4 separate regions of the Homo sapiens genome follow, and regions 1, 2 and 3 are each linked to region 4. The links are contacts of gene promoters, found by promoter capture Hi-C in blood cells and fetal thymus (Javierre and others, 2016). All regions are on one chromosome and are shown on one strand. Each heading gives the region's core, a stretch centred on a gene start or on the middle of the fragment in contact. The rest is flanking DNA. Distances are from core to core; before and after follow the strand shown.

Region 1 (2,953 bases), core at 206-2,705, 6.6 Mb after region 4:
GCTGGGATTACTATTTTTTTTTTTTTTTTGAGATGGAGTCTCGCTGTCGCCCAGGCTGGAGTGCAGTGGCGCGATCTCTGCTCACTGCAGGCTCCACCCCCCCGGATTCACGCCATTCTCCTGCCTCAGCCTCCCGAGCAGCTGGGACTACAGGCGCCGGCCACCTCGCCCGGCTAATTTTTTGTATTTTTAGGAGAGACGGAGTTTCACTGTGTTAGCCAGGATGGTCTCGATCTCCTGACCTCGTGATCCGCCCCCCTCGGCCTCCCAAAGTGCTGGGATTGCAGGCGTGAGCCACCGCGCCCGACCTGGATTACATTTTATGTGAGGTGCAAAGACCTACTGAAACTTCGTCTCCTATTGAAACTTGACCTAGACTACTGGGCTGACTCAGCATAAGGAAGTTACAGAACAGTTGATGATCGGCGTAAAGTTAAAGGGGTGAAGTTCTGTTGAAATCCTTCCCGTTTAATCACCGCAAAAACTGAAAGAACTTTACTTGCGACACTAAAACCACGCGTCTTGTGCACCCTCTACTGGTTTAACCACAAAGTACTAGTTTATTTACGAATTACTGCTGTTTGAACTGATAAGTCTATGAAAACAGGTTTTCATTTTTCCAAAAATTGCACCAAAATAAAGCAAAAGCTCTAGTTGATGCGGGTGTGTTGTTCAGGCGTTAGCAGTACTGCCCTCACTATGCGCTCATTGGACAGTAGCGCAACCCCAAGAAAAGGATGGTTATAATAGAAAGTCCCTGGGCTGCAAGCAGGAAGCGCCAATACCTGGTAGGGTTGTGGTAATTAATTCGTGAGCCTCGCCCTAGTCGGTCTGGTAGCTAGCTTACCTCCAGCCTCCACAGCTTTCGACGACACCCCAATTCTTTGTTTTCTGAGGCTCCCGAAGGGTCGCAAAAGCGGCGGCTCGGTTTTACCCAGAAGACCGCGCGTCGGCCGCTCGAAAATTTGCATACGCTTTTCTCGCCGGGGCGGGGCTGGCGGGGGCGGGACCGCGGCGCGCTCTTGAACTCCACCCGCAGCTAACCCGGGTTTGGCTACGCTGTATTGCCTTTTATTTCGTTTCTCCTCACCGAGTATTTTCCATTATAGCTGTACATAGCTCTTTTTGTGGAAGATCATCCTTCTTCGTGCTAATCTCTTTGGTCCTCCAGTCGGCATGCGTCTGGACTCTCGGACTGCGTCTGGGCCGGAAATGTCTAGGCCTCCCCGGAGCGGGTGGGCGGGAGCGCTGCCCCGCAGGCCGGCTGCTAACAGGCTCCCGGTGTTTCCCGCTGCAGGTGGTTCTGCTGGGCATGGACATCCTGTCCGCCCTGGTGACCCGGCTGCAGGATCGGTTCAAGGCGCAGATCGGCACAGGTGAGCTGCGGCACTTGTGGAGCGGACCCGGCCCCTTCAGACCCCCAGCCTTCCCTCGGCCTCCCCGGCTCCCAAACCCTCCCGGCAGCCACCCTGCCTCCCCTCCAGCCCCCTCTCCCTCCCTTCCGCTCCTCCCAAACAGCCAGTCCCCGCCCTCCCCCGCAGCCCCCCTAAGCACTCGCAGCCTGGGTCGGCCGCCCCGCTGCCTTCCCTTCCAGCTGGACTCCCCTGGCCTCTGGGCCTGCGGGCGCCCTTACCCTCCCCCATACCTTTGTACTGGCTTCACTGTGTTCTCACACGGAACTTAGTAATACGTGTTCTAATATGAAATATTAGTGCCATTTTTATTTCTTATGCTAAATTAGCTGTCACTCTTTAGTGCCAACCAAGTCATATTTTACCCTGACCCCGGTCCCCTTTAATGAGAGGCAGTTTTCCTTGAGAAATCCTATAAAACCAAGCCAGTTGTATTTTTCTCCAGATGATTATGGTTGGCATGACTATTTTCACCTTGATTGTAAATGTCATTACAAATGTATAGTAAATGTTCACTCTTATTTTGAAGGGAAAACAGTATGTCAGCAAAATGAAACAAAACCCACAGATTTCATAGATTTAAATACCTCTAAATTCCTGACCTCCGGTGTTTCATGGGGGTAGTATAAACACTAAGCATCTCTATGCAACCATTTCCTTATGGAATTTCTCTGTTTTACGTTGGTACACATGTATTCTTTACTGTTAACTTTCCGACCAATATGCTCCTTCTGAAAAGGTCATGAGCACCGACTGTTTACAAATTTAAAAAAAGCTTTTACTTTTAGACATTTGATATTTTAATAGTGTTCCATTTTCCTCCTAAATTAGCTGAATTATTCAGGGATATCTCATGTAATAGAGGTTTACAAACTCTTAAAATAAGCTGATCTCTGGTCTACAGGTGCACTTGGACCACTGGTGGGAGGGTCCACCCTGGGTATGTCGGGGAAGATGGAGAGCTGGGCTCTGTCTCATGTGTGTATGGGCGTGATGTAAAACTAAAAATACACAATAGTGATGAAACTTAAGATTTATTCATAAGTGCCCACTCCTTCCACCCCCAAACACATATACTGGAGCCCCTCTCCTTGTGTTTTACCTAAATTTTCCTTTCTGTTGACTCTTCCTCTCAAGGTCTTCCATTTTTATCAGCTTACAAATACGTTGGGAACTGGCTGGAGGAACGTGGGGTAAGGAGGAAGACAAATAGTGTATCTGTCCATGCAAAGGATTTTGCAGACTCTTTTGGTGACTTTCATGGACTTCAGCAAGGAGAGTAGAGCTGTGAGCAAAGATGAGTGGTTTTAGAATGAGATACATCATTTAGGTCAGGGGTTTGTCTTCCCACATAATTGAGATAGGAATACTTGGTGACCACAGACCCCCAAATAGGGTTTCATTTGATCAGTTTCCATTTTGATTTTCAGTGCTGCCAAGTCTAATAGACAGACTAGGAGATGCTAAAGACTCTGTGAGGGAGCAGGACCAAACTCTGCTGCTAAAGATCATGGATCAAGCTGCTAATCCCCAGGTAGGGG
Region 2 (2,965 bases), core at 47-2,546, 6.3 Mb after region 4:
AAACTCCGTCTCAGAAAAAAAAAAAATTAAAAAAATAATAATAAACCCTTTTCCCGCTTACCCTGAGAATACTGTGCTGGCAGAGAGCTGCACTTTTTTTTTCTAAACAGGAAATGGGTTAAGCAATTGTAATTATCATCAGTAGAATGCCCTCGCAATAGAAAACATCTCTGTTTAAACCATACTGTGTGGAAGTGGAAGAAAAATCAACCAAAATTATCAAATCACCTACTTCTTCAATTTTTACTCACCATAAAGCATGATAGCCATTTTTCATTATAAAATGTCTTCTGGATAGAAACTCTCCCTCTAAATAAGAGACTGATAATTGGATACAAAACAAAGAACTTACTGTCCTGAAACCCAGCACCCTGATGGACCCCTTGCAGTAGAGTTAAAATCTCTCGAGCTGTTTGTTCTAAACTCTGTACAACTTTTCTGATTTCCTAGAGAGAATTAAAAATAAAAATCAGATACTCAACAGAATCATTGTCATACACTCACACAAAACACATTAGATAGCTTATGTGATCTATCATAACCAAGTTTGAATCCTGACTTTTCCACTTATTTCCTCTGTAAGACTTCAAAAAGTCACTAAAAAGCCTTAGATTCCTCAGATACCCTTTAAAGAATAATAGCCACCCATTAAACCCAAGTATTCAATTGGGACATTATAATGGATGACGTGTGTGAACGCAACTTGCAAAATGAAGAGTTAAATGCAACACAAGAGTCGGGTATTTCTAATTCTTTTTTCTTTTTTTTTTTTTTTTTGAGACGGAGTCTCGCTCTGTCACCCAGGCTGGAGTGCAGTGGCGCGATCTCAGCTCACCGCAACCTCCGCCTCCCGGGTTCACGCCATTCTCCTGCTTCAGCCTCCCGAGTAGCTGGGATTACAGGTGTGCGCAACCATGCCCAGTTAATGTTCTTTTATATTTTTAGTAGAGACAGGGTTTCCCCATGTTGGCCAGGCTGGTCTCAAACTCCTTACCTCAGGTGATCTGGCCGCCTCGGCCTCCCAAAATGCTGGAATTACAGGCATGAGGCGCCGCTCCCCGCCTCTAATTCATTTTTAAAATATTCACTGAGCATACTTATGTGCGAGGCACTGTGTAAATACCGGGGAACCAAGCACACAATCCCTTCCCTCTGGCGGTTTAACATACAATGAGGGAGAAGATTTTTTTAAAATAATCAATATTACACACATTAAAAAAAGTTAATGTGCTACTAGAAAACATAACAGGAAATAGATCGCTTAGACTGTGACGCCAATGAGATAAATACGAGACAATCAGGAAAAGAACGGGAAAGAAGCAAATTCCAGGAAAAGCAAACAGGCAGGAAGCTATTTGGGGCACTAGAAGAGGTAAAGTGAACATCATACACAAAGACAGAGAGCATAAACGAGATTGAAGAGAAACCATGTGAGCCACAGTAGAGTCTGATTTTTTATCCTGTGTGGCATAGGAAATCACAGGAGAGTTTTAAGCAGATCACATGTGCTTTTAAGACACCAACAAAAATACACGAAACGCTCATTCGCTGAAGACCAGGTGCTAATCGAGCCTTCGATATAAACAAGTGCTGAAAAGAAGGAAAACTGACACAAACGAGGCAAGTGATGCTGAGAAGCTGAGACTCGAACACGGGGAATCAGGACAGAGCAGCAAAATTTTGGGCGGGGGCGGGGAGTGCCTAACCTAAAGCTAGAGGGGAAGCAACCCACCCTCGGAGGCGTCCCCACCGCCCGAGACTGAGCGACAGAGGAGGGCCGGGCGAAGTGGCCCAACTAGGCATGGAAAGGCAAAGGGAATGGGGAAGGGAGGGGGCTCGCCTCTCGGATGTCCTGCTCGGCAGCCAAAAAGCCCTGCAGCTCCACGAAGATCTCGCTCACAGACATGGCGCCGGCTGCACAACAATCAGCCAGTGTAGCAAGGGCGGCCAAGGAAGTGGACGCCGCAGGCAACCAGCGCAATCAATCGCAACGGCCGCCGCTACCGCCGCGTCCCCCCGGTCTTACGCCACGACCGTCGCTAGGGTCCTCCGAGGCTCGCGGCGCGCCGGAGGACGGGCTGTCCGCCGCGCTGCCTGAGGCGCCGTCCGCTGCGTTCGGAACCGAGGCGCGCGTCCAAAGGGCAGAGGAGAGGGAGAGTGGGCGGGGCCTCAGTCTGAGGCCTTCAGACAGGCATCGCCAGAAACAACCTGCGAAGGCGGCCCTCGGAGCACGTGGGCCTGAGGGAGGGCGGGGACGGGCGTGTAGGTGGTGCGGGCAAGTGGGGCTGGTTAGCTTATATGTGTGTATTTATTTCATACACAACAACAGTTGGAGGGAAATATTTGACAACGAAAGAGTATGCACAAAAAACAGGTGCAGAAGAATGTAGAGAGAGTTCAGCCTTCGTGAGAGAGTAGGGGGCCAGTGCATTTCCAAAAAAAAGGAAAATAAAAGTAACGTATGTAGGACTGTGAGTAGGGAATGGATTGGGAGCGAAAATTTTCTGTGTAGATCTTTTAATGTCTTCTCTGTATGGCTGTATTACCTATTTTTAAATTAAACGGCTTTTTTAAGCGTGTGCGGTGGGATGTTTCTCTTTCCACTCACACCTTGTCCTAATTCCCCTTCCATGCCCTATAACGGTTTCCCCTTTCATGCCCTATAACGGTTTCCCCTTTGTTCTTGAAGAGTTATTTCATACACACATACTGTGTGTGTGTTCTTGAACAGTTATTCCATACACAAATACAGTGTGTGTGTGTGTTGCACTCGCCAGATGAATTGGAATGATTCTTATCAACTAAATGATAATTTATTGCTTGCTTTGTTTCTGACATTATTCTAAACTCTTTACATGAAGGATCATATTTAATTCTCATTATATGAGAATAATTTCATGTCCATGAAGAAGACAGTAAGACCACTAGCACCTACATTTTTAAAAAACTATCGGCCGGGCGCAGT
Region 3 (3,250 bases), core at 349-2,848, 7.4 Mb before region 4:
TAACAGAATGCCCTAAAAATAGCCAAATATGCCAAATTTTTAGAAATTGAGACGTGTCCAATTATTCCTGTCAGACTGGTATCCTATTACTTAGAAGATCTTGTTTCACATATTATAAATGGGTAGACTTTCAGTTTGACTTTAATCATCTTTTCATTTAAAAGTTTTTGTCATCAATGATATTTAAGCTAAAAAAGGTTTCTTACAGTTACAATTAGGTAAACTATAACCATGAAGATATATATATATATATTTAGAAAATTTTATTAGAAAAACCATTTGCTGTTCACTAATCCTAATTTGGAAAGCACCTCTTCTTCACCTTTTACTTAACTATCCCAGGACAATTACACACGGAGCATGATAGTCCCAATAATTTAAGTTTCTTTATAAAAACAAGCTCAACAGAGTCACCCTTTGCACCTAGTCACAGCAACAAAAGAAAACAAAACACCAAAAAACTTCAAAGCCCACAAAGATTTGTTGGCAGCCTAAGGCTCAGGAATCAAAACGTGTGTAAATCTGATCCCGGGGGACCGTGGCACTGACAGTCATTCAACTTTCTTTTTAATATTCCCATTGTGCTTTTTCTGGTACCACAGGGAAAATGTACCTACATTTTACCAACCGGTCGAAGCTGAAAATTCTCTTGGTGCAAGGCCAGGGGATGCGGCCGTGGGGCGGCCGGGGGAGCCCGGGGCACCGGCGCCAGCCACACGAGAGAGCAGTACCACGCTCTTGGCAGGCCTGCTGTGGCTGGCTCCCGAGTCCCTGGGGCTGCAAGAGCAGCCGCGGAGGCAGCAGCAGCAGCCATGGCAGGGACTCGGAAACCTTTCCCCTGCCTCCTCCGCTAGGCCTCGAGGGGTTTGCTTTTCACATGGCCCCCGGGTGGGGGCGGTGGGCACAAGGCAGTGGCTGCAGCTGCAGCCGGAGCCGCAGCCGCGGGCCAGGCGAGCCTGGCTCACTCGGAACCCGACCTAACGGCGGGCTGGCAGCAGCGGGACGTCAGAAGGCCCTGGCTGAAGCGCCGACGACCCGGCGGGGAAGGCCACCTTTCCACACACCACATCTCTCCCCTGCCTGCCTCCTTCTCCGTTAGCGCTACCGGTTGGCGGGCGGGGGAGGGGAGCAAGGCGCGTTATTCCCGGGGAGCTGGACGGGGGAGGGAAGGGCATCTCTTACCCGCGTTACTGAGGAGGAGGAGGCGGTTGGAGCGCGGCGCGGCGGGGCGACGGCGGGGCTGGGTGGGTGCAAGTAAGAGTCTTACGAAAGGGAATTAACCCCATCACCAGCCCGGACACCGGCTCCAGCGGCAGCCGCGGCTGGCAGAATCCCGCCCCTTCCCACCACGCACTAGCCCCGCCTCTTCGTTCTCTTTGAGCGGCAGCCGACTATTCATAGGTTGTACGTCCCCGGAGTGACATGAGTTTTGCCCAATCAAGCTTGAAAAAAACTGTCTTCTCTCCACCCCTTTACCTCCTCCCAGGCCGCGGAGAGCCGTGCCAAATCTTCCTCCAACCTCAAGAGAAAAAGAACCAATCCGTGGTAAGTAACCGCCCTTGAAGGACGCAAAAGCCAACCAATGGTAAAACTAGGAGGACAGCCATTTTGCCCACTTGTAAAAGAGCTACCTTTTCCCACGAGTTGGAGCCTGAGGTGCGGAGTTTCGTGAGTTTTTACTGACTCGAGGTATTTAAAAGACAACCAGATCTCCTCAGTGGGTATTTATAGTGCTTTTTAGGGGTAAAGGAAAATTATCCTCCATGTGGGGCGAAGTGAGGCATGCTGCTTAAGGGGTTGGCTCCTCCCCTTAGCGCTAACGGGTTCTGAAACGAACACCTGGTTTCTCCAGCTTCAGTGGCGGAGGGCGGGGTGATTGCTCTTTTCGGCCTGGAGCGGACTACGATTCCCAACATGCTTTTCCCCTACTCATAACTTCTCCTCCGTTCACTTGTCGCGGTGCTTGGCTGGAATTGTAGTTCCTGAGAGGTACCCATGCCGCCGCTTCAGCCAATGAAAAGGGACAGAGTTTTGAATGACTTGAAATTAGGGCGGAGAACGAGTTGTCGCGAGGCTGTACAGAGCCCTTTTCGCAACCCTAACGGGAGAGAAGTGATGGAAGAAGGGTAGCCGGAAGAGTTTCCTCAAAATACCATAGGGGTTTTAAATTATTAGTACGTATTTAAACTCATCTACTTTCACGTTGTCCCGTTGAACGTCACTTCCGCTTAGGGGCGGACACGTCCCAAACCTGTGGCGGGAGTTGGAGATTCTGCGGCGAATACGCCAGGTGTGACTGGCTGGAAGTGGCGTGGCTGGCAAGTCGCTAGTTTCTTGCATGGGAGATAAAAAGTTGAACGGAATTTAATGGCATTTTAAGAAAGAGTGGGTGACATGGGATGGGGGTAATTTCCAGGGCCCTTATTACTTTCTCCACCCCGGCCTTCAATCGCGGGCGTCTCGGCCTGCTCGCTATTAGATTGCACGGCTAAATTTGTAGAAAGTACCTCTACTGCCTTTAGTCTTCGCGTGGTCAGTTTGAACTGTAAAGACAGGGCTCCGAAGTTCTGAACTACATTTACAGACACACTTTTTTTTTTTTTTTTTGAGACGGAGTCTTGCTCTGTCCCCAGGCTGGAGTGCAGTGGTGGGATCTTGGCTCACTGATTCACGCCATTCTCCTGTCTCAGCCTCCGGAGTAGCTGGGATTACAGGCGCGCGCCACTCAGCCCAGCTAATTTTTTGTATTTTTAGTAGAGACGGGGTTTCACCATGTTGGCCAGGATGGTCTCGATCTCCTGACCTCGTGATCCGCCCACCTTGGCCTCCCAAAGTGCTGGGATTACAGGCGTGAGCCACCGCGCCCGGCCACAAACACACTTCTAAAGTCAGCTTGGAAGGAAAAGAGTCACAGAAAAGGGCTTTTCTGTTTGAAGGATTGATAATCAAGAGTGGCCCCATCACCACTCTTTGAGTAACGACCATTTATTAAACGAGTGGCAGACAGGCGCGGTGGCTCAGACCTGTAATCCTAGCACTTTGGGAGGCCGAGGCGGGAGGATTACTTGAGGTCAGGAGTTCGAGACCAGCCTGGGCAACATGGTGAAATCTTGTGTCTGCTAAAAACTCACACACACACATTAGCCGGACGTGGTGGCAGAGATCTGTAGGATCTGTAGTCCCAGCTACACGGGAGGCTGAGGCAGGAGAATCGCTTCAACTTCGGAAGTGGTTACAGTGACCCGAGATC
Region 4 (2,940 bases), core at 378-2,877:
CAACCATCCGTAGGAGGCTGAGGTAGGAGGACCACCTGAGCCCAGGAGGTGGAGGCTGCAGCTAGCAAGATCATGTCACTATTCTCTAACCTGGGCAACAGAGCAAGACTCTGCCTCACCAACAAAAAATAAAAAAATAAATTAAAACACTATCTCTTGCACCATTGCACTCCAGCCTGGGTAACAAGAGTGAAACTCCATCTCAAAAAAAAAAAAAAAAAGAAAGAAAGAAAGAAAATTATCACATCATCTTGTATTGTTACAGGGAAACTTAGATAAAAAAAGAAAATGCTCACAGACAGCTGCAGGAAAGTTCTAAGCAAATTTTCTTCTTACTTTCATATATTCCCCTGAAGTTCAATGTGCATTATAAATGTGCTATGCTACTGTACAAAGTATTATGGTCACTTCCTTTAATAAGTTTCATGTGGCCAGGAGTTCAAGATCAGACTGGTAGGTAACAAGACCTCATCTCTACAAAATAAATAAATAAATAAATAAATAAGAATTTTTTTAAAATAAGCTTCAGCTAAGTTTATCAAAAGCAAGTCAAGTGTTGCTAAATTCGACTGGCTTAAAAAAAAAAAAAGCAAAGTGAAAAGGCTACAATTATTCCAAGTTTTGTGGTGCTGTTAAATAGCTATTTAAAATGTCTTCAAACGCCTGCAAGTGTAAGATTCTTGAAGGAAAGAGGGCACTTTACACTAAAATTGGCTGGCAAGTACATCAATGAATGTTTCCAAAACAGTTAGTGTAGCACAATAAGGCAAAAGACCCCAGGACTTCAAACGAACAAAATTGCTCCTTCTCAAATCTGGCAAGAAATGCAAAACAACTGCAGATTCTGGCCAAGGAACAAAAACAGTTCACATCTATAAGTTATTGGCGACGGACGCAGATCTCATTCTGGCAGGTCCCACGCTAAAAGTGAAACCATATCATCCAATTTCCAGCCAACAGATCACAGTGTTAAAAGAAAACAGTAACCAATACGCATCAACCCGAATTCATTTTAGGAAAAATTGAAATCTATTTTAAAAAGCACGTCGTTCTGCAATCAGGGTCCTGCAAAGTGCTGCTTCTCAACTCACTGAGGATCAAGCTTGGTCTAAATCCATGGTAGGATACCTCCCCCATTTCCTTCTGCACTTGGCACAAGGATCTAAAGCTCTTCAAAGAAGGTTCAAGACCGCTGAACAGAGCCCGCCGCCACCCCCGCGGAAGCGATACCTTGCCAAGAAGACCACTGAGGGCAACTCGGGGCGCTCGCGAATAGGGGAAGGGATAGGACACCAGAGGGTAAACTGAGTCACGGTAGAGGCGGAAGCTCAATGTGACAGGGGCACAGGGTCGCCTTGTGCCCCAAACCCTCTCTTTGTCCACGAGGCCTCCTCACGCCACCCCTGGGTACCTGTCACCGGCAGCGCACCCGCGGCACACGCACCGCTCGCGTCTCCCTTGCAGCCCATGCCCGGGCCGTGGTCAGTCCGCCACAGTGCCAGAGACAACGCCAGGGCAGGGCGGGGCGAGGCGGCAGCGGCAGTGCAGGCTGCGCCAGTGAGAGGCCGACACGCGCCTTTCCCGCGGCTCGACTCAACACCCAGCCTCGCAAAGCAATTGCCCAGCTGCCGGCCGCCCTTTTACTTCCGCTTCCTGCAGGCGAACGCTGGAGGACTTCCGGATACCGAGTCGAGACCTAGCAGCCCAGAGCGTCGCGCGGTCGCCCTCTCATCTCCGAGGGTTGGGGAGGGGGGAGTCCTGCCTCTCTCCTCACTTCCGCCTTTCAGGGTGGCGGGTAGGCTGCCGGTCTTCAAGGTCTTGGGAAGGTTCGTTGGGCCAACAGCTGAGACCCGAAAGCTTCAACAGTCAGTCGGTGAAATCCAGTTTGGACTCTGGGACTTACTCCCTTAAACCTTTGTTAAAAGCTTACTCCCTTTAGCCTTTCGGTGGCACAGTAAGGACAATTGTCTTAATGTTTCTGAGCATCTTAGACTTTATACTAAACCCTAAAATTTTGATAGCTACCTTCCAGGAGGCATGATGAAAGGAAGACTTTTTAAATTTTATGAGCCGCTTGAGCTTTCTTATTCGGACAGCGGCAGCTTAGTCTACAGGGACTACTTTGTCCTTTTAGTATTTTTTTTTTAACTAATATAAACCAGTTTAAAATTGTTTTGGAATAGGTAGCATTTAACCCACCCAAAAATGAATACCTCTTTGGAGGGTATATTTTTAAGTATATTAAGTCAAAGTGAATGAAAAGCCAAAAATATTTTTTTGGAGTTGGAGTCTCGCTCTGTCTCCCAGGCTGGAATGCAGTGGCGCGATCTCGGCTCACTGCAACCTCCGCGCCCCCGCCCGCGCCCCCCACCCCCCAACCCCCCGACCCGCATTCAAGCGATTCTCCCACCTCAGCCTCCCCAGTAGCTGGGATTACAGGCGTGCGCCACCGCGCCTGGCTAATTTTTGTATTTTTAGTAGAGACAGGGTTTCACCCTGTTGGCCAGGCTGGTCTCGAACTGCTGACCTCAGATGATCCACCCGCCTCGGCCTCCCAAGTGCTGGGATTACAGGCGTGACCCACTGCGCCCGGCCCAAAATAATTTTAATAAATAAACATGAGCCAACATGATGAAGGGGAGGAAGGAGAGGAGGATGAAGGAGATGACTAATGGAACACTGATGGAGGCCGGGCGCGGTGGCTCACGCTGAGGATGGAGGCTGAGGCAGGAGAATGGCGTGAACCCGGGAGGCGGAGGTTGCTTGCAGTGAGCAGAGATCGCATCACTGCACTCCAGCCTGGGCGAGAGAGGGAGACTCCATCTCAAAAAAAAAAAAAACAGCAACAACAACAGCAAAAAAACACTGATGGATTCCAACCTTCCTTTTTTTACATTTTCTCCAGTCCCTGGGAGCAAGTTGCAGTTTTTTTGTTTTTTT

Evidence for each region. The method cuts DNA at HindIII sites, captures the fragments that hold promoters and counts their contacts. A CHiCAGO score of 5 or more calls a contact.
Region 1: the fragment with the promoter of CLASP1-AS1 here is called in contact with the fragment with the promoter of UGGT1 in region 4 in 4 of 17 cell types (activated CD4 T cells, total CD8 T cells, total B cells and 1 more); the score reaches 6.7 in activated CD4 T cells.
Region 2: a contact is called between a fragment that was not itself captured here and the fragment with the promoter of UGGT1 in region 4, in 2 of 17 cell types (naive B cells and naive CD4 T cells). The highest score is 6.1, in naive B cells.
Region 3: a contact is called between the fragment with the promoter of ZRANB3 here and the fragment with the promoter of UGGT1 in region 4, in 2 of 17 cell types (monocytes and total B cells). The highest score is 5.5, in monocytes.

The regions. Positions count from the first base shown.
Region 1 is chr2:121,528,670-121,531,622 of GRCh38, reverse strand. CLASP1-AS1 (CLASP1 antisense RNA 1) reads right to left here and starts at 1,455. Exons shown (of 2, transcript XR_001739683.2): 1 at 848-1,455. It overlaps CLASP1 (cytoplasmic linker associated protein 1), which reads left to right. Exons shown (of 41, transcript NM_001395891.1): 3 at 1,298-1,376; 4 at 2,843-2,946. It overlaps RNU4ATAC (RNA, U4atac small nuclear), which reads right to left and starts at 743; the gene lies at 614-743. RefSeq lists an enhancer at 1,066-1,195 and a silencer at 1,386-1,585. The HindIII fragment of the contact is 3,511 bases long and covers 1-2,189 here.
Region 2 is chr2:121,754,721-121,757,685 of GRCh38, reverse strand. It overlaps TSN (translin), which reads right to left and starts at 2,035. Exons shown (of 6, transcript NM_004622.3): 1 at 1,841-2,035; 2 at 353-446. The coding sequence starts at 1,906. RefSeq lists an enhancer at 1,981-2,170. The HindIII fragment of the contact is 5,575 bases long and covers 1-2,965 here.
Region 3 is chr2:135,529,566-135,532,815 of GRCh38, reverse strand. It overlaps ZRANB3 (zinc finger RANBP2-type containing 3), which reads left to right and starts at 1,598. Exons shown (of 21, transcript NM_032143.4): 1 at 1,598-1,689. R3HDM1 (R3H domain containing 1) reads right to left here and starts at 1,332. Exons shown (of 27, transcript NM_001378107.1): 1 at 1,183-1,332. RefSeq lists a silencer at 1,166-1,355 and enhancers at 1,323-1,617, 1,586-1,855, 2,206-2,285. The HindIII fragment of the contact is 14,144 bases long and covers 1,445-3,250 here.
Region 4 is chr2:128,089,887-128,092,826 of GRCh38, reverse strand. It overlaps UGGT1 (UDP-glucose glycoprotein glucosyltransferase 1), which reads right to left and starts at 1,627. Exons shown (of 41, transcript NM_020120.4): 1 at 1,412-1,627. The coding sequence starts at 1,469. RefSeq lists an enhancer at 1,556-1,865. The HindIII fragment of the contact is 755 bases long and covers 1,105-1,859 here.